Regions from separate parts of the Homo sapiens genome. Here regions 1, 2, 4, 5, 6 and 7 are each linked to region 3. The links are contacts of gene promoters, found by promoter capture Hi-C in blood cells and fetal thymus (Javierre and others, 2016). All regions are on one chromosome and are shown on one strand. The core of a region is centred on a gene start or on the middle of the fragment in contact, and the rest is flanking DNA. Distances in the headings are between cores, read along the strand shown.

The links. Contacts are between HindIII fragments. The CHiCAGO score rates a contact against its expected background, and 5 or more counts as called.
Region 1: a contact is called between a fragment that was not itself captured here and the fragment with the promoter of BCLAF1 in region 3, in 1 of 17 cell types (naive B cells). The highest score is 5.8, in naive B cells.
Region 2: a fragment that was not itself captured here is called in contact with the fragment with the promoter of BCLAF1 in region 3 in 1 of 17 cell types (fetal thymus); the score reaches 5.4 in fetal thymus.
Region 4: a contact is called between a fragment that was not itself captured here and the fragment with the promoter of BCLAF1 in region 3, in 10 of 17 cell types (non-activated CD4 T cells, total CD4 T cells, fetal thymus and 7 more). The highest score is 8.6, in non-activated CD4 T cells.
Region 5: a fragment that was not itself captured here is called in contact with the fragment with the promoter of BCLAF1 in region 3 in 12 of 17 cell types (endothelial precursors, fetal thymus, M2 macrophages and 9 more); the score reaches 9.2 in endothelial precursors.
Region 6: a fragment that was not itself captured here is called in contact with the fragment with the promoter of BCLAF1 in region 3 in 11 of 17 cell types (naive B cells, fetal thymus, monocytes and 8 more); the score reaches 10.0 in naive B cells.
Region 7: a contact is called between a fragment that was not itself captured here and the fragment with the promoter of BCLAF1 in region 3, in 1 of 17 cell types (fetal thymus). The highest score is 5.7, in fetal thymus.

What each region holds. Positions count from the first base shown.
Region 1 is chr6:135,651,049-135,654,353 of GRCh38, reverse strand. The region is part of intron 3 of AHI1-DT (AHI1 divergent transcript); the gene reads right to left. Among named protein-coding and RNA genes, the nearest start is that of LINC02524, 18 kb to the right of the region's middle. The HindIII fragment of the contact is 1,410 bases long and covers 1,148-2,557 here.
Region 2 is chr6:135,544,703-135,547,821 of GRCh38, reverse strand. The region is part of intron 2 of AHI1-DT (AHI1 divergent transcript); the gene reads right to left. Among named protein-coding and RNA genes, the nearest start is that of AHI1-DT, 48 kb to the right of the region's middle. The HindIII fragment of the contact is 1,147 bases long and covers 1,093-2,239 here.
Region 3 is chr6:136,288,387-136,291,449 of GRCh38, reverse strand. It overlaps BCLAF1 (BCL2 associated transcription factor 1), which reads left to right and starts at 1,604. Exons shown (of 13, transcript NM_014739.3): 1 at 1,604-1,737. LOC124901408 (a long non-coding RNA gene) reads right to left here and starts at 1,436. Exons shown (of 4, transcript XR_007059784.1): 1 at 1,293-1,436. RefSeq lists enhancers at 909-1,028, 1,349-1,568, 933-2,132, 2,079-2,198, 1,617-2,213 and 2 more. The HindIII fragment of the contact is 10,003 bases long and covers 1-3,063 here.
Region 4 is chr6:135,487,954-135,490,861 of GRCh38, reverse strand. AHI1 (Abelson helper integration site 1) reads left to right here. Exons shown (of 29, transcript NM_001134831.2): 5 at 115-239. Among named protein-coding and RNA genes, the nearest start is that of AHI1, 8.3 kb to the left of the region's middle. The HindIII fragment of the contact is 4,311 bases long and covers 1-2,908 here.
Region 5 is chr6:135,515,629-135,518,735 of GRCh38, reverse strand. All of the region lies in intron 2 of AHI1-DT (AHI1 divergent transcript), which reads right to left. Among named protein-coding and RNA genes, the nearest start is that of AHI1-DT, 19 kb to the right of the region's middle. The HindIII fragment of the contact is 1,302 bases long and covers 1,099-2,400 here.
Region 6 is chr6:135,448,150-135,451,424 of GRCh38, reverse strand. It overlaps AHI1 (Abelson helper integration site 1), which reads left to right. Exons shown (of 29, transcript NM_001134831.2): 12 at 2,950-3,135. Among named protein-coding and RNA genes, the nearest start is that of AHI1, 48 kb to the left of the region's middle. The HindIII fragment of the contact is 1,853 bases long and covers 1,099-2,951 here.
Region 7 is chr6:135,431,222-135,434,267 of GRCh38, reverse strand. AHI1 (Abelson helper integration site 1) reads left to right here. Exons shown (of 29, transcript NM_001134831.2): 16 at 1,012-1,241; 17 at 2,954-3,046. Among named protein-coding and RNA genes, the nearest start is that of AHI1, 65 kb to the left of the region's middle. The HindIII fragment of the contact is 4,268 bases long and covers 1-3,046 here.

The DNA of each region.
Region 1 (3,305 bases), core at 603-3,102, 640 kb after region 3:
TGATTTCTTCAGATTTTTTACCTCGACAATCATATTATCCATGAACAAAGACTGTTTTATTTATTTCTTCTCGATCAATATATCTTTTATTTCCTTTTCATGTCTTATTGTGTTAGCTAGGATTTCCAGTAAAATGTAAGAAGTGGTGAGAAGGAACATCCTTGTCTTGTTCCTGATCTGAGTAGAAAAGCTTTTAGTTTCTTGCCATTAAGTCTTATGTTAGTTGTAGGGGTTTTGTAGATGTTCTTTATCAGGATGAGGGAGTTCCCCTCTAAAATTCTAGCTGAGTTTTTATTACAAATAGGTGTTGTATTTTGACAAATGCTTTTTCTGCATCTCTTGATATAACCATGTCATTTTTCTTCCTTAGTCTGTAGATGTGATGGATTGCAGTAATTGATTTTCAAATTTGAGCCAACCTTGCATACCTGGGATAAATCCCACTTAGTCATGGAATATAATTATTTTTATACATTGCTTGATTCAGTCTGCTAATATTTTGTTGAGGACTTTTGTGTCTATATTCATAAGAAATATTGATCTTTTCTCATAATGTTTTTGTCTGATTTTGACATTATGGTGAAGCTGGCCTCATAGAATGAGTTAGTAAATATTCCATATGCCTCTATATTTTAGAAAAGACTGTAGAGAATTGATATAATTTGTTCCTTAAGTATTTGGTAGAATTTACTAGTGAACTGATCAGGGTCTCATGGTTTCTGTTTTGGAAGGTTATTAATTATTAATTCCATTCCTTTAATAGATCTAGGCCTATCTGGATTGTCTATTTCTTCTTGTGTGAGTTTTATCAGATTTTATTTTTCAAGAAATTCATCTATTTCCCCTAGGTTATCAAATTTGTGGGCACAGAATTATTCATAGTATTCCTTTATTATCCTTCCAATGTCCATGGGCTCTGAAGTGAAATCTCCTCCTTCCAAAAGTAGTAATTTGTGCCCTTCTTTTTCCTAGCCTGGCTAGAAGCTTATCAGTTTTGTTATCTTTTCAAAGACCCAGCTTTTGGTTTCAAAAATTTTCCCTATTGATTTCCTATTTCAATTTCTTTAATTTCTACTCTAATATTTATTGTTTCTTGTGCTTACTTTGGATTAATTTGCCCTTTCTCTAGTTTTCTATGGTAAAAGCTTGCATGATTGATTTTAGATCTTTCTGCTTTCCTAATATATGCATTCAATACTACAGTAGTTTCCCCTTATCCACAGGCGCTATGTTCCAAGACTTCCAGTGGATGCCTGAAACCTTGGATAGTACCCAGCCTAAATGCTGTAAATCAGAATATGTTTCTATTTCTGTCTTCCAGCCACAAAATGTAACGCTTTTTTCATCTTAACTAGGCACTTACAGTGGCCATACTTTTGCAGCATGAGGTGTGACAACAAAACTAGCATGAATTTTTTTATCCTTCTTCACAATATCGTGGATAGAAGATTCATTTTTACCGTAGATGTTAGCAAGTTCAGCATATAATTTTTTTCTTTTCTTATTAAGTCAAGAATGTTCACCTTTTCACTTAAAGGAAGTACTTTATGGCTTCCTTCATATCTGAATTGCCAGCATTTCTACTTTTGTGCTTTGGAGCCATTAAGTAAAATAAGGGTTACTTGAACACAAGCACGGTCATATCACAATAGTCAATCTAATAACCAAGACTGCTCACGCCTGTATTCCCAACACTCCAGGAGGCTGAGGTAGGCAGATCACTTGAGGCCAGAAATTCGAGACCAGCCTGGCTCACATGGTGAAACCCCGCCTCTGCCAAAAAATACGAAAGTTAGCCAGGCATGGTGGCCTGCCTGTAATCCCAGCTACTCAGGGACGGTGGGGGGCTGGGGGGAGGGGGGCAGAGCTGAGGCAGGAGAATTACTTGAACACAGGAGGTAGAGGTTGCAGTAAGCCAAGACAGTGCCACTGCACTCCAGCCTGTGTGACAGAGTGAGACCCTGTCTCAAAAAAAAAAAAGACTGCTACTAAATGACTAATGGCCAGGTAGTGAATGTATATAAGGTGAACAAAGGAGGATTTACATCTCATAGGGGATGAAGTGGGAAGGCAAGAGATTTTATCATGCTACTCAGAACAGTATTCAATTTAAAACTTAAGAATTGTTTATTTTTGGAATTTTTCACTTAATATTTTCAGACTGTAGTTGACCACAGATAACTGAAACCACAAAAAGTAAAACTGCAAATGAGGAAGTACTACTGTGTATATTTCCCTTTACGCATTTTAAAAACTTGTGAGATGTTTGCTGCATCCCACAAGTTTTCATAAGTTGTGTTTTCATTTTCATTTAGTTCAAAGTATTTAAAATTTTATCTTGAGATTTCTTCTTTGACCTATGTGTTACTTAGAAGTATGTTGTTTAATCTCTAAGTATGTGGGGATTTTCCAACTACCTGTTTTTGATTTCTAGTTTAATTTTATTGCAGTCTGAGAGAAGACATTGATTGTATGATTCCTATTCCTTCAAATTTGTTAAGGTATGTGTTTTTTGGCCCAGAATATGTTCTATACTGGTGAATGTTCCATGTAAGCTTGGAAGAATGTGTATTCTGCTGTTGTTAGATGAAGTAGTCAATAGATATCCATTATAACCAGTTGATTGATGGTGTTGTTGAGTTCAACTCTGTTGTTACTGATCTTCTTGCCTACTGGACCTGTCCATTTCTAATAGAGGGGTGTGTTAAAATCTCCAATAATAATACTGGATTTAACTATTTCTCCTTGCACTTGTATCAGTTTTTGCTTACATATTTTGACACTCTGTTTTTATGTGCACGTATTAGACTGCTCTAACACTACTGATAAAGACAGACCTGAGACTGGGCAATTTACAGAAGAAAGAGGTTTAATGGACTTACAGTTCCACACGGCTGAGGAAGCCTCACAATCATGGTAGAAGGCAAGGAGGAGCAAGTCACATCTTACATGGATGGCAGCAGGCAAAAAGAGAAAGCTTGTGCAGGGAAACTCCCCTTATAATATCATCAGATCTTGTGAGACTTATTCACTATCACGAGAACAGCATGGGGAAGACCTGCCCCCATGATTCAATTACCTCCCACTGGGTCCCTCTCACAACATGTGGGAATTCAAGATGAGATTTGGGTGGCGACACAGAGCCAAACCATATCATTCCACCCTTGGCCCCTCCCAAATCTCATGTCCTCACATTTGAAAACCAGTAATGCCTTCCCAACAGTCCCCCAAAGTCTTAACTCACTTCAGTATTAACTCAGAAGTCCACAGTGCAATGTCTCATCTGAGACAAGGCAAGTCCCTTC
Region 2 (3,119 bases), core at 417-2,916, 740 kb after region 3:
CCCACCTCACCAGTTTTGACAATCAAAAATATCTCCCAAAATTGCCAAATAGCCCCTAATGTGCAAAATAGCCCGATTGAGAACTGCTGATGAATATAGTACTCACACTTTCCCTTGGGCCACAATAACATCAAGGGCCTCATTCTGCATTGCCAGCAAAAAGCTGTCACCATCGTTTATTTCCCCACCTTGCTTTTTCCACCAGGTGAATGACGGGAAAAACCAGTATCAGAAATATCAGGAGATTTTATAAATAAATAGAATAGATTAATCTTCTTGTTCTTTGGTTGAAGAAGAATTATGCAGTATAGCTGTTATGTTAATACTGTTATGTCTTAGAGGAGGGAAACAATTATAAAAGATAAATGTATTTTTGTTCTATTATTTCACTGGTTATATGTTAAAGAAAATGAACTTAGTATGAAAATCGCTCTCCCTGAACTTCAAGAGCTCCATAATGAAACCCAGTGATTCACCCTTTCTCAGTGAAGAATGGACTTCATAATCAAATGAAGAAAAAGCAGTTCTTCAAAATGAACAATAGTGCATTGCAGTGAAGCAAAATCCAGCACATGAAATGCAGATAACCTGCTCTAACACTTGCATGCCATTGGCTGCTGGTGTGCAGCCAAAATTTAACTGTCACCCTTGGAAGAACTGAGGAGTGAAGTCAACTCTTGATTTTCCACACTAATGGAAACAAATGTGTCTGACCTAGAAGGTCATCAATCTCCATCCATGAACGCAAGTGGGTGAGAAATATTTTTATTTCATTCAATCTAATTTTTCTGTCAAACCCTGATGCTAGGGCAAGGGTAGGAGGTTGTGAACATTCTACTGCTCTCACAACACTGTCTGGGAATTTTGCCACTTCCCTGGGTTTCTGCCAAGAATGGGCCCTCCGCCCATTGGTCACAGGGAACGACAGAGGGAGGGATAGGAACACAGGCCCGCGGGCCAAAGCCTGTGCCCCCTCCACATGCCCGCACCACTATGGCCCCCTCAATCTTGCTGCCCTTGCCACATTCCTAAGGACCCACCCTCCACGGTGTAGCCACACTTAAGCAGAAGTGGGAGCAGCCCCAGGAAGCTTCCTTCTAGGGCTGATCCAGCAGGGAATCCAGGTGGGATTGAGGGGACGCCTCTCCTTGGCCCCACAGAACCCGAGGGAGAAGCCTCCAGGGGCTCCAAGGTCCTTGATGGAACTGGGGCTCCCTCTTTGAAACCCATCCAAACGCACTGCCACCACATCCTCCCTGTTCCCTCTTTTCCCCTTCCTTTTCTATATAAACCCCTGGGAATCTTTTCCTCTCCAGAAGGCGAAAGCAACAGTCACCCTTGATGTTTCTCTTATATAATTTGGCTCTACCCAGAGACTCTCTATTGTCCTAAAGGAGTGAGCTTTTTGCCAGGAAGTTTCCTGAATTTGGGGAGTGTGGGGGAGTTGTTTCATTTGTTTTCTGTTGTCTACCATGTCATATCCTTTCCCTGAGATACTGAGTGGAAAGCAGCTTTGCTGCTTAAACAGCAAGGAGATTAATCAGTAGGAGGGAAAAGAGATGTATGTTTCTAAAAACATCATAATCAAAATATTGTAGGTGTATGTATTATTATTTGATTATGAGTCTATATTTGATAATGACTGATGTTCAGAAAATAGACAGAATAATGAAACATTATTCATTACTAAACTTTTCTATTACTTCTACCCAAACATCTTCATGCATTTCATTTGAATTAAAAAATATGGTAGTGCTGCTATTGTGTACATAGAAATTGAGAAGTCTATAGGCAATAAATCATATATTATGTGGGTAATTCCAATAAGAGGATATAAAAATCCTGAGTACTGCATTCTCCCAGTATTTATGCCAAGGGAAGACACAGATGTGTGCTGTTAAATGAAGATCCTAAACACTAATTGCATCTCCTGTATTCCTGATCTTCTAGGATTTCTACCAGAGCAGGACAAATTTGGGTCCTAGAAGGCACTATTAAGACAGATTTCCTATCTTCTGCCAGGCAACTGCTGTTGCCACCATAAGGCAATCATCTTGGGAACTCATTAATTCTGTTCCCTGTATACCTGGAGTAGGATTTCTTCCAAATGACTTTATCAGTTAAGTTTCTTTGGCTGTAAGCAACAAAGATCTTAAAATGCTAGCTAATTTAAGATTAAAGAAAATGTATTGATTGGCACAGCTGAAAATTCTAGAGTTGGAATGGTTTCAATCAAGCTTGATTACGACCTCATCCTTAGGGGCTGCCTGATGCTTCCTGACATCCTCAGTTTCTCACCTGAGGCAGCAGAAGAGCTAGCTAGCTAGCTAGCTAGCTAGAGCTAGCTTCCCAAGTAGTTCAAAGAAAAGACCAGACGTTTAAACCTGGGTCTTGTGCTGAACCACCCACTGTGATCATAGGACTCTAACCACAGCGACAGTCTGAGGTGGAGGCTGGCAAACTTTTGCCATAGAGGACCAGATAGTAAATATTTATGGCTTTGCAGGCCACATGGTCTCTGTCACAACTACTGACCTCCACCATTGTAGAGCAAAAGCAGCCATGCATAAATGGATTAGCATGGCTAAGTTACAATAAAACTTTATGGGCACTGAAATTTAGATATTATTATTTTGATTTTTGTTGAAGCCACTTAAAAATATAAAAATCATTCTTAGTTCACAGTATTTATAAAAATAGGTGGCATTTTCTTCAGTACATATTTTACTTGAAACACACAGAGTGAGGGAGAAATGGGTCCTTCAGAACAAAGTTAGGATAGTGAGTACCGAGCAAGCAACACAATGAGTATTCACCCCAGCACCATCATGCTTCATAGTTTTAGATCATGAGGGCTCAGGAAACTCATAGAACTTGTCCTGAAGCTAGAAACCCAACAAACAGCCACTCCCAGCTCCTCAGTGCTGTTCATAACCCCTACCACTCACCTCTAGAGTTATCCAGGTGGCAGAGTCCATATAGCTGTCTACTTTCTTTGACATCCACAAAGCAAGAAGGTCACCAGCGAGGATAGCTGTGCATATTCTGCATGTGGACCACGTGGTCAGTGCCCACTCCCAGTGTTACTGACACCAAGAAACATTATGGTTTGGGATAAT
Region 3 (3,063 bases), core at 355-2,854:
TTCAAGAACCTCCTACTTTGTAGATTGGGAAAGCATCACGTATCAAATGGATCTATTTCAAGGGAAGTCTGTATAACTTCCACTTACTAAAGGCTTTGTTCCAAAGGATCTCCTTTGTTACTACCTCATGTTATGTAAATAAAATCATAATCAGTTATATTGCCTCAAATAGATACTTCATTTTCAACACATGTGCAATAGAATTGCAGAGGGAGGTCGAAGATAATATCCTAGCCTGCAATTTGGGGTATTTTGAATAAATGAATAACAGCATGTATTGGGAGCGCCCCGACTCCCAATACATGCAGAATAGCAGACGTGTATTGAGCCCTTAGTTGTTTTTTTTTTAAATATAGTTCATTCACTCAACAAATATTTCTGAGAACCTGCGAATGCTTGGGACATCAGGGCACAACAAAAAGGCCAAGGATTTCTGTGTCCACATCCTGAGGTGGTAATGGGGTGAGGGACAGACTGTACAATAAAAAACCTACGATTCACTCCATGAAAATGTTGTCGTTTTTCTAGTTCAGCTGGTAAACTGGACTGTGAAGAAAGAATGCTCTAAGCACAGTGTTAAATTCACAACCAGGGCCCAATCCTAGTTTCGATTCACTCACTGACACCCTGGTTGCTAATTACAAGTCTGAAATCCATCAAGGTAGTTAACATCTCTAAACATCAAAGCAATAGCGGTTTTAGGCCCTAAGAAAGTGCAGCCCGGAGAAGTATTAATGCAAAATGTGCTACGGCTGTTATTTAAATTCTATTCAAATCGAATGTGGCTTGCCTATTTATAATCTGACTTATAATTCTGGACAACCAAGCTACGTTGGGCTGTGTTCCTCGGCTGCCACAAATCATCGTCACAGGCTGAAAGCTCAACTGCTTCGTGCTCTTTATTTTTTCATGCCTATGCCAACGTTGCCGATGTGGTAAAGCTGTCATCACGCCGCCAGAAGGGCGGCCTTCTTTGGCACGAGCAGCCTAAGAGGTTTCCGGCTGCTGCGGCTTGAGCTCCGATTTGATCAGACGCCACGAAAGGGATTTAGATCGTGGCCATTTTTCAACTAAGTGCGTCTGCCGAATTTAATAGCAAACCAAAAGCCACATTTTCTAATCTCCAGTTAGGCGTCCAAGAGGAAAAGTGGCGCTTGCTGGCTGAGGGAGCAGCGTGTCTGCAATTACAGCCACGTCTTGCCTCCTGGTCTTTTCCTCAGTGTGGGATTGTCTTTTTGTTTTTTGCCTGGTCTGAGCCGGCCCCACAGAAAGAACAGACCAGACGAGCTTACTGAGGTAAAACGCAGGGGCGGCGGTGAGGTCTAGGGGGTCTACTCAGAACGAGGCAGAGACACCAGCGAAAAGCGCCGTATGGCGAAGCTAACTCAGGCCTGACAAAACACCCACCCTACTCTACCGCCTCTCCGGCCAAGGCTGACGCTACGGGCCAGAGGGCGGAGCCGTCACATCTTCCCGCGAGACCAGCCACGCGACTTCCCAGAAGGCCGCAGGCAACATCTTAATAGCAGCCAGGAAGCCGGACCGGAGCGGAAGGGTGGGCGGGGCTTGCCCGCATATTTAGCGGCACCCGAGGCCACGCCCCAGATCGGAAGTGACGGAGACGTGCTAGCGCGTCGAAGGTAGCTCTATGGTTTTCCTCGCGTTCTTGAGTCGGGAAATGGCCGCTGTGTGGTTGCAACGGAGATAAATTCCCGGAACCGCGATTCGGCGTGTCAGGTAGGCCTCGCAATGTATTCAAGTTACTCCAGGGGCAGTGAAGACCGAGGACAGGCCATATTTTTGACTCTTTTGTGGGTGGTGTCGGGTTGGCGGCGAAAGGAGAACCAAGGAGACGTTGCGCCGTTATTTATGCGTTTTTTCGTTAGCTTCTCTCAGGTTTTCGAGGCACTACGGGCCGAAAAGGCCGGGCGGGGGCGCTGAGCAGTGCTAACGGCGGGCGCGCGCGTGTTTGCGAACCTGCCTGGAGACCCACAGCCCGCGCGGCCTCCCGTGCGCGTGCGCATATCTTCCTCTTCCACCCTTCCCCCATTTCTTCAGCCCGTACCTCTGCGCGCGCCCGACTGAACGCTCCGCGCACGCGCGCTCGTTCATTTTTCTCTCCCCCGCCTATGGCGCCGACGGCCGCTGGAGGTGCAACTTGTGTCCGCCTCTCATTGGCTGGGACTGCCACCTTTCTTCGTGGCCTGTGGGGTTTTGAGAAAATAACTGTGACCCGCAGCAAAGTGCGTTGAGTAGGTCTACCCCTTTTCGCGTGGTCTTTAAAACTGCCCTCCGGCTTCAGACCACCCGTCAGTTAATGCCTCGTTTTTGTGATGCTACTAGGTTTTAGTGCTCTGTTCTGCCTCTCGCTGCTGACCCTGGTTCTCTGGAGTTAATTTCGGTACCCGCGGCAACCTGCTGTTTTGAAGCGAGCGCGCGCTGTTGACTGGTGCTGGTTGCCTAGTTACGGTTCCCTAGCGAGAGGATTGGGTCTTAGCTGGTGGTTCTGAGCGTGGCCCTGCCCCATCCGGCTGAAAGTGCGGTTCTTCATGAGTACTAGCGAAGCCGAGTCTTTTCAAGTGATTCAGCCCATTTAGTCGTGTCAGAAATGTTGCAGCCACGATTGGTGGACAGCTGGTGTGAGAAATGGGTGGGAGTGGCGAATTGGACTTTGCCTTCATTTTAAATTCATGAGTTGGCTTGATTCGCTTTTAAGATTTATTTCTTCAGAATCAAGCTGAAGTACCAGCAGCTACTTTGCTACCTCAGACTTTTTTAAAAAGCATTTTAGAACTGGAAACAAATTAAGACTGAAGTTGAAAGCAAGTGTGGCTAACACTGACGAAAAAGATGAGCTACTTCAGACTTGTACCTCACTGCAACAGCCTCTTTTAAATTTTTTGGTGTTACAAAGCAAAACAAAATTTCTTGTTCCTCTTGTGAATTCTCATTTCAGTTCGACTTTAGTTGGAATGGTTAGGATACTGTTCAGGCAGTAAATAACCTTTACGTAGGAAAAACTGCTACAAGGCTTTTGTATTTTTGTTTGATCATGACCAATTC
Region 4 (2,908 bases), core at 346-2,845, 800 kb after region 3:
AGCTAGAGAACTCATGCCGATATTTACAAGAACTTATTTCTTAACATCCTAGTAGTGTAGGTTGTGTGTTATGATAGAGTCATTTACAAAATCACATGGCTGTATCTTTTGTAGCTGAGAGTGAAGCAAAAGTAAAAACCAAAGTTCGCTTTGAAGAATTGCTTAAGACCCACAGTGATCTAATGCGTGAAAAGAAAAAACTGAAGAAAAAACTTGTCAGGTCTGAAGAAAACATCTCAGTAAGTAAATGATCATTGGGTAATAGTGATTTACATATGCGCATAAAATGCAGATATGGCTGCATTTTATGTTAAAATTCTAAGGAATTTTGAAAATTAAAAACAGTAACACTATGTCATGGTCAATAACATGTGGTAAAAATAAAGTTTATATTAGAATCAACATCACTGTGAGAATATTGACTTCATTCTTGAGTGCTGTCCTACAGGAAGAACACACACACAGTGGGGAAAATGACCAGAGATAGTGGGGAAACTCAAAACTAGCCATGATAACATTTTTGAAGAAAATATTTTTAACCCAGAATTGTGAAGAACTTAGGAAGTAGTATCTTAACTTCAGATATTGAATAGCTTGTGCTTATTTAAACTATTTCTGTGTGATTCTACCCAACAGAACCAGGAGAAATCAATGGCCGTATGGTAATAATTATCCTTTTATGTTTGAGGCACACTTTCAAATGATAGAATCTTTGGCAGCACACTTGAAGGAATTAAAAATACAGTGCTCAAAGACTAAGCAAATCAGCAACTAACTACAACCTGATCCCCTTGGAATCATAAAGAGTCTGTATTGGCATCCACAGTTAATGCTCTATGCCCTCTTTATACCTATCTCCCTACTTGAGTTGCACTTTTTACTACTTTGACCATTATCTCTTCTGTCCTCACAGAAAAAAATAAACAGGCTCTTGTGTAAATGGTACATAGTTTTTTTTTTTTTTTTGGCAGGAGTTTTATAATGAGTTATAATCCTACATTTTGCTTGTAGTAAGATTTACCCCATTTTTTCTTAAGACCTGTTCATTTTAGTATTCTGTCTGGCAGATGTCAATGTAACAATATAAATTCTGAAGTGAGGCAAAAACAAGTAGTAAAATTGACCAAAATCCAGCTGCACATATGTGAGGGTTCATAGTGTATACACTGGTGTACGACTGCACAAAAATTTCGAACTACTGACAGAATGGACAGATTAGCACTCCCATAGTGATTGCTGCTCTGAAATAGCATGTGCTTTTTCTGGTGGTACTAGTGCACAATATGGTAGGGAATAGTGACATGGAGGATGAAACATTGCTTATTGATATATGCGCTCCCCTCAGATGGAGTGGTTTATGTTGGGCAAAAGCAAAAAGAACCCTGGAAACAGTTGTCTGCAGAGATGTTTTATGCTCAGAGAAGAACCTCATATTGTCTCTTAGTATTAAAGAACTGGGAGTTGTGAGCCATGAACAAAATGCAATTTAGACCAAGGTTTAAATTAAATGGATAATCAGAATAGGCAGAGGCTATGTCCATTTACCTAAGGTCCAGTTTAAATGTTGAGGGGCACATAAGTGTGAGGTGACTAAGCATAATTTATCCAGCCTCTCTTTGCAAACACCAGGACTGAATAGGCTTCTTTTCTTTCAGAAATAAGTACACTAGGAACAAATATTTGGGAAGATATTTCGCAGCTCAAAAGAACAGGAATATTTCTAAAGGACTTAGAGGAGAACAAAATATTTTTGACATGATTAACTTGAGGAAGTAAAAGAGGAATAGCTGCTTTCATTTGCTAGATGCCTTAATGCTTTCTATCTTTAGGCACTCTTCTAAACACTTTATATATATTTAGTCGTTTAATACAAACGACGAAATTACAGGGTTTTATTTCTGTACAGGAGAAAACTACATCAGAAGTTAAGTAACTTGCTGAAAGTTACATAGTAAATGGTAGAACCAGGATTCAAACACTGAGTGGAAGTGCAGAATCCACTGCCTTAACCACAACCCAATATTATCTATTTTAATGAAATTTGAAAAGATAGGACTTCTTCTTGAAAGAAGAACAGGGAGTCCTATGTACAGAACAGGCTGAGATGAGAAATGGAGCAGTCTGAAATAAAATTAAGCGAGGAAAAAAGTCAAAATAGGGATTCATAATAATGGCAGGTTCATCTTATATTCCAGTTATATATAAGGCACAATAATAAGAGTTTTACAAATATTATTTCTAAATCTCATGTTAATCATGCAAGATAGATATTGGGATTCTTTTTTTGCACATGAGAAATTTTATAAACAGACAAACAGACATGTTAGGTGATTTCCTTAGGTCATTTAGTCTAAAATAGGATAAGTGGGATTTAAGACCACAGTCTCTGCAATTTTAAAGTTCATGTTCTTCAGTTGCTTCCTTAAAACTATATCTCAGGCCTAAAATGATGGAATTGACACTACGGAAAAATCTAATCAGTGAAGTGGGAGACAAATTCGAGGTGGGAAGAAATGACCAAAACTAAAATGAAAGAAATAAATGATGAGGACATAGAAAGATATTTGACCCACAAATAAGTATCCCGGGACAGTACTAGTGGAGCAGAAACAATAATGAGCATGATGAAGAAACCTTGCTGAGATTTCTGAAGAGATGAGTCATCCTGCATTCCAGGCAAAATTTATGAGATGAGAACTATATCTAGAAAATTCTTTTGTTTGTATCTTAAGAGTCAAATATTGCAGACACCTAAACACAAAAACATATAGTACATTTGAGACTTCTCTGTAAAAACACTAAATCCAAAAGACAATGGAGAAATATTTAGAGCACTAAGAGAAAAATTGTAGCCTGAGGAATCTGGTCACCTAAGTTGTCAGTCATTTGTGATGGTAGTTGTAAACAT
Region 5 (3,107 bases), core at 500-2,999, 770 kb after region 3:
GTCATTGAGGCAAGTCATTAAAGAATTCTGAGCAGGAAAGTAACATGATAAAGAGCCTTGGAAAGCCATGAGAAAGATAAAGAAGGGTGAGACCTTCTGTTTCCAGGGACTTCTGCATCATCCAGGTAAGGCATGATGAGTGGCTGTGGAGAGAATGGAATGGATATCTAGTTGATAAAATGTACAGCAATTAATATAACAGTTAACGTTCGTAACATCTATCTGTCAGGCATTGACACTGTGCAGTGACTAGGAATCCAGGCTCTGAATCCAACTGCCTGAGTTCAAACATTATGTCTCCATCCATTACTAGCTATCATGGGCAACTTGCTCAGTTTCCCTGTATCTCAGTTTTCTTATCTATAATTAGAACCTACTTCATGGGACAGTAAGGATTATTCAGTATTCCCACAAAATACATGATCTTGTTCTTTTTTATGACTGCATAATATTTGTTTATATGTATGCACCATATTTTCTTTATCCAGTCTACCACTGATGGGCATTTAGGTTGATTCCATGTCTTTGCTATTGTGAATAGTGCTGCAATAAACATTTGCATGCATGTGTCTTTATGGCAGAATAATTTATATTCCTCTGGGTAGATATTCAATAATGGGATCCCTGGGCACAATGGTAGTTCTGCTTTTAGGATTTTGAGGAATCGCCATACTGGTTTCCACAATCATTGAACTAATTTACACGCTCACCAAGTGTATAAGTGTTCCCTTTCCTCCACAACCTTGCCAGCATCTTTTTATTTTTATTTTTTAGTAATAGCCATTCTGACTGGTATGAGATGATATTGTGGTTTTCATTTGCACTTCTCTAATGATCGGTGATATCAAGCTTTTTTCATATGCTTGTTGGCCGCAAGTATGTCTTCTTTTTCAAAGTATCTGGTCATGTCCTTTGCTCACTTTTTAATAGGGTTGTTTTTCTCTTGTAATTTTGTTTAAGTTCCTTATAGATGCTGGATATTAGACCTTTGTAATATGCATAGTTTGCAAATATTTTCTCCCATTCTGTAGGTTGTCTGTTCACTCTGCTGATAGTTTTTTTTTTTTTTTTTTTTGGCTGTGCAGAATCTCTTAAGCTTAACTAGATCCTATTTGTCAATTTTTGCTTGTGTTGCAATTGCTTTTGGTGTCTTCATGAAATTTTTGCTTGTTGCTCTGACCAGAGTGGTATTGCTTAGGATATCTTCCAGGGTTTTTATAGTTTTGAGTTTTACATTTAAGTATTTGATTCATCATGGGCTGAGTTTTTTACATGGTGTAAAGCAGGGGTCCAGTTTCAATCTTCTGTATATGGCTAGCCAGTTATCACAGCACCATTTACTGAAGAGGGAGCTTTTTCCCCATTGCTAGTTTTTGTCAGCTTTGTCAAAGATCATGTGGTTGTAGGTGTCTGGCATTATTTCTGGGCTCTCTATTCTGTTCCATTGGTCTATGTGTCTCCTTTTGTAAAAAAGTACCATGCTGTTTTGGTTACCGTAGTCCTGTAGTATAGTTTGAAGTCAAATACTGGGATGTCTCCAGCTTTGTTCTTTTTGCTTAGGGTTACCTTGGCTATTCAGACTCTTTTTTGGTTCCATATGAATTTTAAAATAGTTCTTTCTAGTTCTGTGAAAAATGTCATTGGTAGTTTGATAGAAATAACATTCAATCTGTAAATTGCTTTGGGCAGTATGGCCATTTTAATGATATTGATTCTTCCTATCCATAAGCATGTAATGTTTTTCCATTTGTCTGTGTCATCTCTGATTTCTTTGAGAAGTGTTTTGTGGCTCTCACTGTAGAGATTTTCCATCTCCCTGGTTAGCTGCATTCCTTTATATCAACAACAGCCAAGCCTAGAGACAAATCAGAGAGGCAATCCCATTCACAATTGCCACAAAAACAGATAAAATATCTAGAAATAAGGCTAACAAGGGAAGTGAAAGGTCAAGTTTATTGGGAACATAAATTCTTGAGTCAGAGTAGTGAGAGCTGATATATAAAGTAATGGATAGAGCCAAAGGCCTTTTTAAGGAAGAATTTATAGTACTTGGTAATAGATAAACTATAGAAGGTAAATAAAAGATGAGAAGTAAACATGACTAAAAGATTTTGAATTTAGAGTGCAAAGTACGAGAAATACCAAACCTAAGGGGCAAAGATGTTTTTAGGGCATTGAATTAAGATTTTTTGATGGGTTGAATTTTGGGTAATGATGTAACGTTTAAGTGGAAATATCTAGTTGGCTGCTGGATATTAAAAGTTTTTAGAGTTGTTAAGTATCTTAGGAATTACCATAGTCCAATTGCCTTATTGCCTTAGCAAGAAAACTGAGATCTAGAAGGATAAATAATTTATCCACTATAACACAAGTAATTAATATAGAACAAAAACTCAAGCTTTTTTGCACCCAATCTAGTGCTCTTTTGACTATATTGTACTGCCTTCTCTAACTGCTTGGTTAGAGCAGAAGCAATGACAAAATTATAACTATGGGAGAAAACTGTAGTGGTAAAATATATTCGAGTCATGAGATCTGTGAGGTAGAAAGTTTGGAGCATAAACAGCAAGCAATTTTCAATTTACATGCCAGCTCCAATAAATTGTTATGCCTCCTTAATATTGTATAGAAAATAATTTTGAACCTATATCCAGGCTTACCGAAAATGAATTATATAACCAATTAGTAATCACGGACAAGAGCAAGTTGGAGAAGTGGGTAGCATATATGCCACCTATTCCTATCACTGGTCAGAAAGTTGCAACCAGAAACATGGGAAAGAAGAGAACGTATTTGTAAAGATAACAGACAGCCAAATGTCATAATGGTCAGCCTTGCATACATTAATGACATTTTCTTTCTATTATTTTTTTCCTATCTTAAATGGAAGGTGTCAGATAAACTGCCGAATACTTACTGTTACCCTGGAAACATGAAGGACTTGAATATTTGTGGAATCATGACAGAACAGGTTGAAAAATATTAAGAGGCGAGAGCTAGAGAGAGAGAGAGAGAGCAAGAGAGAGGAGAGATACATAAACTGCTAATTAAATTAAGCTCTTTTACATAACCTAACTTATTTGTTCTGTACTTTCCCAGACTTTAGC
Region 6 (3,275 bases), core at 776-3,275, 840 kb after region 3:
GCTATAATATCACCAGCTCCCAGCATATTAATGTCACATAGAAAGTGTTTGGTGAATATATATTGAGGGAATTAATCATTGATGATAGAAAGAGTGGCAAGGATAAAATTCATCTTCAAGAAAGTGGCATGACGGATGCAGTAGCTGACTCCTGTAATCCCAGCACGCTGGGAGGTGAGGTGGGCCGATCACTTGAGGTCAGGAGTTTGAGACCAACCTGGCCAATATGGTGAAACCCTGTCTCTACTAAAAATACAAAAATTTGCCAGATGTGGTGGTGTGCACCTGTAATCCCAGCTACTCGGGAGGCTGAGCGGGGAGGATTGCTTGGACACAGGGAATGGAAGTTGTAGTGACCTGTGATTGTACCACTGCACTCCAGCCTGGGTGACAGAGTGAGACTCCATCTCAAAAAAAAAGGGAAGTGGCATGAAGACAATTAAAATTTAAATCTTTTATTACCTATCCTGTTGGTACGAGGGATGTCTTGGATAATTGTTAAGTTATTACAGTAATTCAAATGAGACTTTATCCTAATTCTCAGCTATGCCTCAGATTCTCAGGTACTTTCAGTTCTTTTAGTACATATATGTGGCTATTCTTTTAAACTAAAAAGTAATAAAGCCTTATTTATCTGAGCTCTACATTATATAATTTATAACCATAATGGCAGGGTCTTGGCTGAATCTTAGTTGTTTACTCAGGCTAAGCAACGTATTAATGTAAACTAAATTGCCTGTTTAAATTAATCTATGGAAAGTATGATTTAGAAGCTGGGGAATATCTTTTTAAAATTACCGTGATAAGCTTTGGGGAGCTGTAGGAGAGTTTATCAAGGGAGTCTCGAGTGCTTATGATTTAATGACTGAACATATCTATTACTCAATTGGGAATGGTTCTTTACCCCTGTGTGTCATTTGACACTAATCACAATGTCACCCGCTCAGCTTATAACCTCCATTGTCTTTACATTCTTTCCTAAAGGGGTAGGGGAAAAGATGGGCTATATTTTGCCATCTCTTTTTCCTTGTTGATGCATCATTCCTTAACTTATCATTCCTGAACAACGTTCTGAATTTTGCCTCTGCCACTAAAGCTTCTCCAACCAAATCACTAGTGATTTCTGTTTGCTAAATATATTGAACATTTTTTAGTTATTTTGTCACATCTATGCATTTAACATATCACACTCTTGAAACTCTGTTACCTTGGTTTTCTTGACACCATCCTCTCCTAATTTTTCTTATACCATTCTTTGAGTTTCCTTCATGGTCTTCTACCTACCTCCTTAATATCAGTCTTACTCATGGTTTCATCTTTAACCCACTTTTCTTGGAACCACTTTTCTCACCTGTGCTTCAGATTTGTAAATTCAGTCACCTGCTGGACATTTCAGCTTGGATGACTTATAGATATGTCAGATTCCTCCAAACTGAGTATCCGTGCTACTCTCTCTGCCACTTCAATTGGTGGTACCACCATCTGTCCACTCTCCCAGATTTACGAACTTAGAGTTACACTGTTTTGGTAGCTACAAGTCACATGGCTGTTTGAATTCAAATTAAATATAATTAAAAATTTACTTTCACATTTGTGCTAGCCATACTTCAAGTGCAGGGTAGCCACATGTGGATTCCGTATTGGTTAGCACAAATTGGTTAGAGTATTCCCATCATTATAGAAAGCTCTCTTGGACAATACTATCTTAGAGCCTTTCTTGCCTCTTTGTTTTTTTTTACTTTCCAAGTTACATAAGTCTACAAGTAACAGTTGTTAAATGTGTTCCCTGCACTCAGTGCCTATTCTTCTAATTTAAGATATTAAGTTACATGAGTCTACAAGTAACAGTTGTTAAATACCTTCCGGGCACTCAGTGCTTATTCTTCTAATTTAAGATACTTCATGTTTTGTGTGAACTGTTGCAAAGGGTTCAAACTATCTTTCTGCTCCTAATTTGCAGAAGACATAAAGGTTAGAAAGACGTTTCATTTCCTATTTTGAGTCATGGTCTAATGAAAGAGAACGTATTCTGAGTTGGTAAGATTTTTATGTTTCTCATAAAAATCTCCATTTAGGGCCAGGCGTGGTGGCTCACAACTGTAATCCCAACACTTTGGGAGGCCGAGGTGGGCAGATCACCTGAGGCCAGGAGTTCAAGACCAGCCTGACCAACATGGCAAAACCTCTGACTATACTAAAAACACAAAAATCAACCAGGTGTGGTGGCATGCACCTGTAATCCTAGCTACTCGGGAGGCTGAGGCACAAGAATCACTTGAACCCAGAGGAGGTGGAAATTGCAGTGAGCCAAGATTTTGCCACTGCACTCCGGCCTGGATAACAGAGCGAGATTCTGCCCAAAAAAAGAGACAAAAACCTCCATTTAGTTAGCTTAAATATAAGTTTTGTTTAATAGGGTTTTAAAAATAGACCTTTGAAAGAAGATATACTAAAATACTGAAAAAAATGTAACGAATGGCTTGAATGAGTTTAATTATCTTGAAATGATTTTAACTTTTTAAAAATTTAAAACATAAAATTTTAACCATTAAAAATACTGATATTAAACAAATGGAAGATTTGTGTCTTGTGTAAATATACAGTTTAGTCTTTATCATAATTATTTCAAACATGTGTATTGATCACTTCCTTTGTTCAGCGTGAAATCTGGCACAGTAATGTAAATGCTGTACCGACAGTCTGAAATTGTTGTACACGTGAAAAGAGAGCTATCAGGAAAATATTTTAAAAGCCATTTGGGCTACCTTTTGTCAAAAATGATCTGGAAGTGTGCTTAACTAACTATTTAATGTTCTTTGCTTTTTAAAACTAAGAAATTTCAGCATGCCATATTAATCTTTTAAAAATGTTTCTGACTTTATGCTATTGCTTTATTGGATATATTTATTTTCAATGAAGGTAACATTTTATATGAATTCTTATTTTAAGCTTCTGGGAGCCAATGGAAATGCAAACATCAACTCAAAACTTCGCTTGCAGCTATATTACCCACCTACTAAGCCTCGATCCCCATTAAGTGTTGTTGAGGCATTTGAATGGTGGTCAAAATGTCCAAGAAATCATTACCCATCAACACTGTACGTAACTGTAAGAGGACTGAAAGTTCCAGACTGTGTAAGTTAATAGTACATATTAAGTGTATATCATCTAGTGTTGAAATTAAATGGTGACATAGCATGTTTTTCATTTCTAAAAAGATAAGGCCTCTAATAATAATTTTAATAGATTTCTGGGGTTATATATTAAGCCTGTAA
Region 7 (3,046 bases), core at 547-3,046, 860 kb after region 3:
ATCCTATATTGTAAGCAGCTGCTGAGGAAACTCATAGAATATTTTTCTTGAATAGAAACTGTTTTTTTTTCTCTTATCAGTAATCTTGTAACAGACTCAATTTGCTTTAGTTTTCAAGCAGTAATTAAAAGGATGAATACAAATCCCATATTTAAAATTAATATGTTCTTCTAATTTTGATAATTTAACAAAATATATTTAAAAATCCAATGCTTCACACTTATATAGCACCTGTATATTGGTAGATTTCACCTAGTTTTATACATTGTTAGAAATGCAGAGTATCTAAGAGGTTAACCCTTAAGGGTTTACTCATTTGTCAAGACTGTAGCAGTGATAATAATCTTAATTTTTTTTAGTTAGCCATTATTTAGAGGACAGGATAATGAGTGTTAAACAAAAAGAACGTGCTTAATGTAGGATAGTCTTTTCTATCAAAATGTCATAATTATTTTAATCTTATTTTACTTGAGAATTCAAAATATAATAATTTTAGTATCTCTTAAATCTTTGAGATCTTCATTTTTACTATCTAGGCTTTGAAATTACAAATATAAAAGTTAATAGACTATTCTATTCTCTAAACCCCCATTAATAAACACTTTGTAAAAGTGGTATACACAACCTAAATGGGAAATCATTAAAGTTTCTCCCTATATATTTTTTATGTATATTGTACTAAATGCAATATTTTACCAACTGTTCAATGTGTGTTTAACCAACAGCAAAATAGGTAGGTTTTAAAAAGTTATTAATTTTATAGTATAGATTACAATTAGTGGATATAATATGCTGGATAATAACTATAACAAATAACTTTGTCACATGTGAAAATTCCAGTCATCAAATATGAGATCATCATTATATTTTTCATTGTTTTAAAACTTGGTTTACCATTGGTCGTTGTCACTTGCTTGCTTAAGGTTCATTGGCTGTGTTGGTTCTTAGAAAAACTGTTAAAAGAAACTTCTGCTTTTCAGAAGCAATATGTAACTTCTTATCCTTTTCCAGGATATGGAAAAATGAAATAAACAATACAAATACTTTCAGAGTTTTACCTCATCCTTCTTTTGTTTACACGGCTAAATTCCATCCAGCTGTAAGAGAGCTAGTAGTTACAGGATGCTATGATTCCATGATACGGATATGGAAAGTTGAGATGAGAGAAGATTCTGCCATATTGGTCCGACAGTTTGATGTTCACAAAAGTTTTATCAACTCACTTTGTTTTGATACTGAAGGTATGTCAGAGACTATGAATGAAGACCAGCTATGTGAAGAATTTTTTTTTACCAGAATAATAGTTATTTAGGCTTGAGAGGGTTATGTACTGATGATTGCGCATATTTAGGTTTATGCTTATTTTGCAGGTCATATGATAGATATGACACTAAGGGACTTCTGTTTGTAATTTTTAAGTTTTTAAATTCTTAAACATTTAGATTCAATTAATCTTTGCTATAACAACCAGTCATGTGCCAAATTGCATAAATATATTTCTTTGAACTGGTGATTATCATTCTTACTTTTTCTTCAAGAACCTTAAAATTTGCAAACATATAGAAGGGAAATTTGCAATTATTTAAAGTTTTATCTTGATATAAGAATAATATGGTGGCCGGGCGCGGTGGTTCGTGCCTGTAATCCCAGCACTTTGGGAGGCTGAGGTGGGTTGATCACAAGGTCAGGAGATCAAGACCATCCTGGCTAACACGGTGAAACACCATCTCTACTAAAAATACAAAAAATTAGCCGGGTGTGGTGGCATGCACCTGTAGTCCCAGCTACTTGGGAGGCTGGGACAGGAGAATCGCTTGAACCCTGGAGGTAGAGGTTGCAGTAAGCTGAGATCGCGCCACTGCACTCCAGCCTGGGCGACAGAGTGAGACTCCATCTCAAAAAAAAGAATAATGTAGTATGTTTTAAAGATGTAAAACGTAAATCATTTTATTATCTGAAAGAATGAAGAAATTTATTGTATCTATTAAATAGTCACTTTTTACATAATTTCAGAGACTGGGCATGTAGGCTAGCGCTATAATTAATTGGTATGGGATCCAGATCAAAAGGATAATACTGCTGATTTACTCAGTTCAGCTGTAGGGATGTTAATAAATTTGGAACATATTCAGGAAAGACTCTGAATAGAAAGGTATCTGAAAACTAACTCTGTCATAATAGCAGTAGTTGAGATTATAAAAGAGACATAAAGACTTTCTTCAACTATTTGGCCATACGATATCCAAATGTGCAAAAAAAAAAAAAAAAGGAAATTGGTCCATGTTACTCCAGTGGGTAGAGGTGGGCCAAAGCTGTAGAAGATAGATTTTCTTTGTTCAGAATTAGAAAGAATATTTTAATACAGGAAGCAGTTCACCAGTTGAATAGCTGTTTTATAAAATACTGAATTCACAGTTGCTGAACAGCCATCTGTTAGTGGTGGTGTTTGAGATATTCCTGAGTGGGTATGAAGTTGAACTTAATGGTCTCTGAGGTCTTTCAATTTTAAGATTATTTGACTCCAAAGAATTGATGTTAAACTGGTGCATATTAGAATATAGGTATTTTTCTAGGAATCCAAAACAGATTTATGGGTTAATAAAGATGAGAAATAATGTTACATGTCGGATGGTTCAAATTATTTGGCTTTGGAATATAAGCCATATACACATGTACTGAGAGGCTCATTTCTTTTTATAGTTAAATTCAGGTAAGTGAAAAAGGGAAAGAAGTCATCAAAAATAATTTAAAAGAGTAAAGAATTCATTTAAAGATAATTGGGGTTTGTTTGTGAGTTACATTTTGATTTTTGGCTTTTTTAAACTGAAATACCTTTTAATAGCCCTTCAATTCTTTGACTGTTTTACTGGGGTATAGTTTCCCCCGATTTCCTATTATTTGTTTCTAACTCTGTGTGACATTCATAAGTGAGTGATCTTATTTTTTTAAATAGGTCATCATATGTATTCAGGAGATTGTACAGGGGTGATTGTTGTTTGGAATACCTATGTCAAGATTAATGATTTGGAACATTCAGTGCACCACT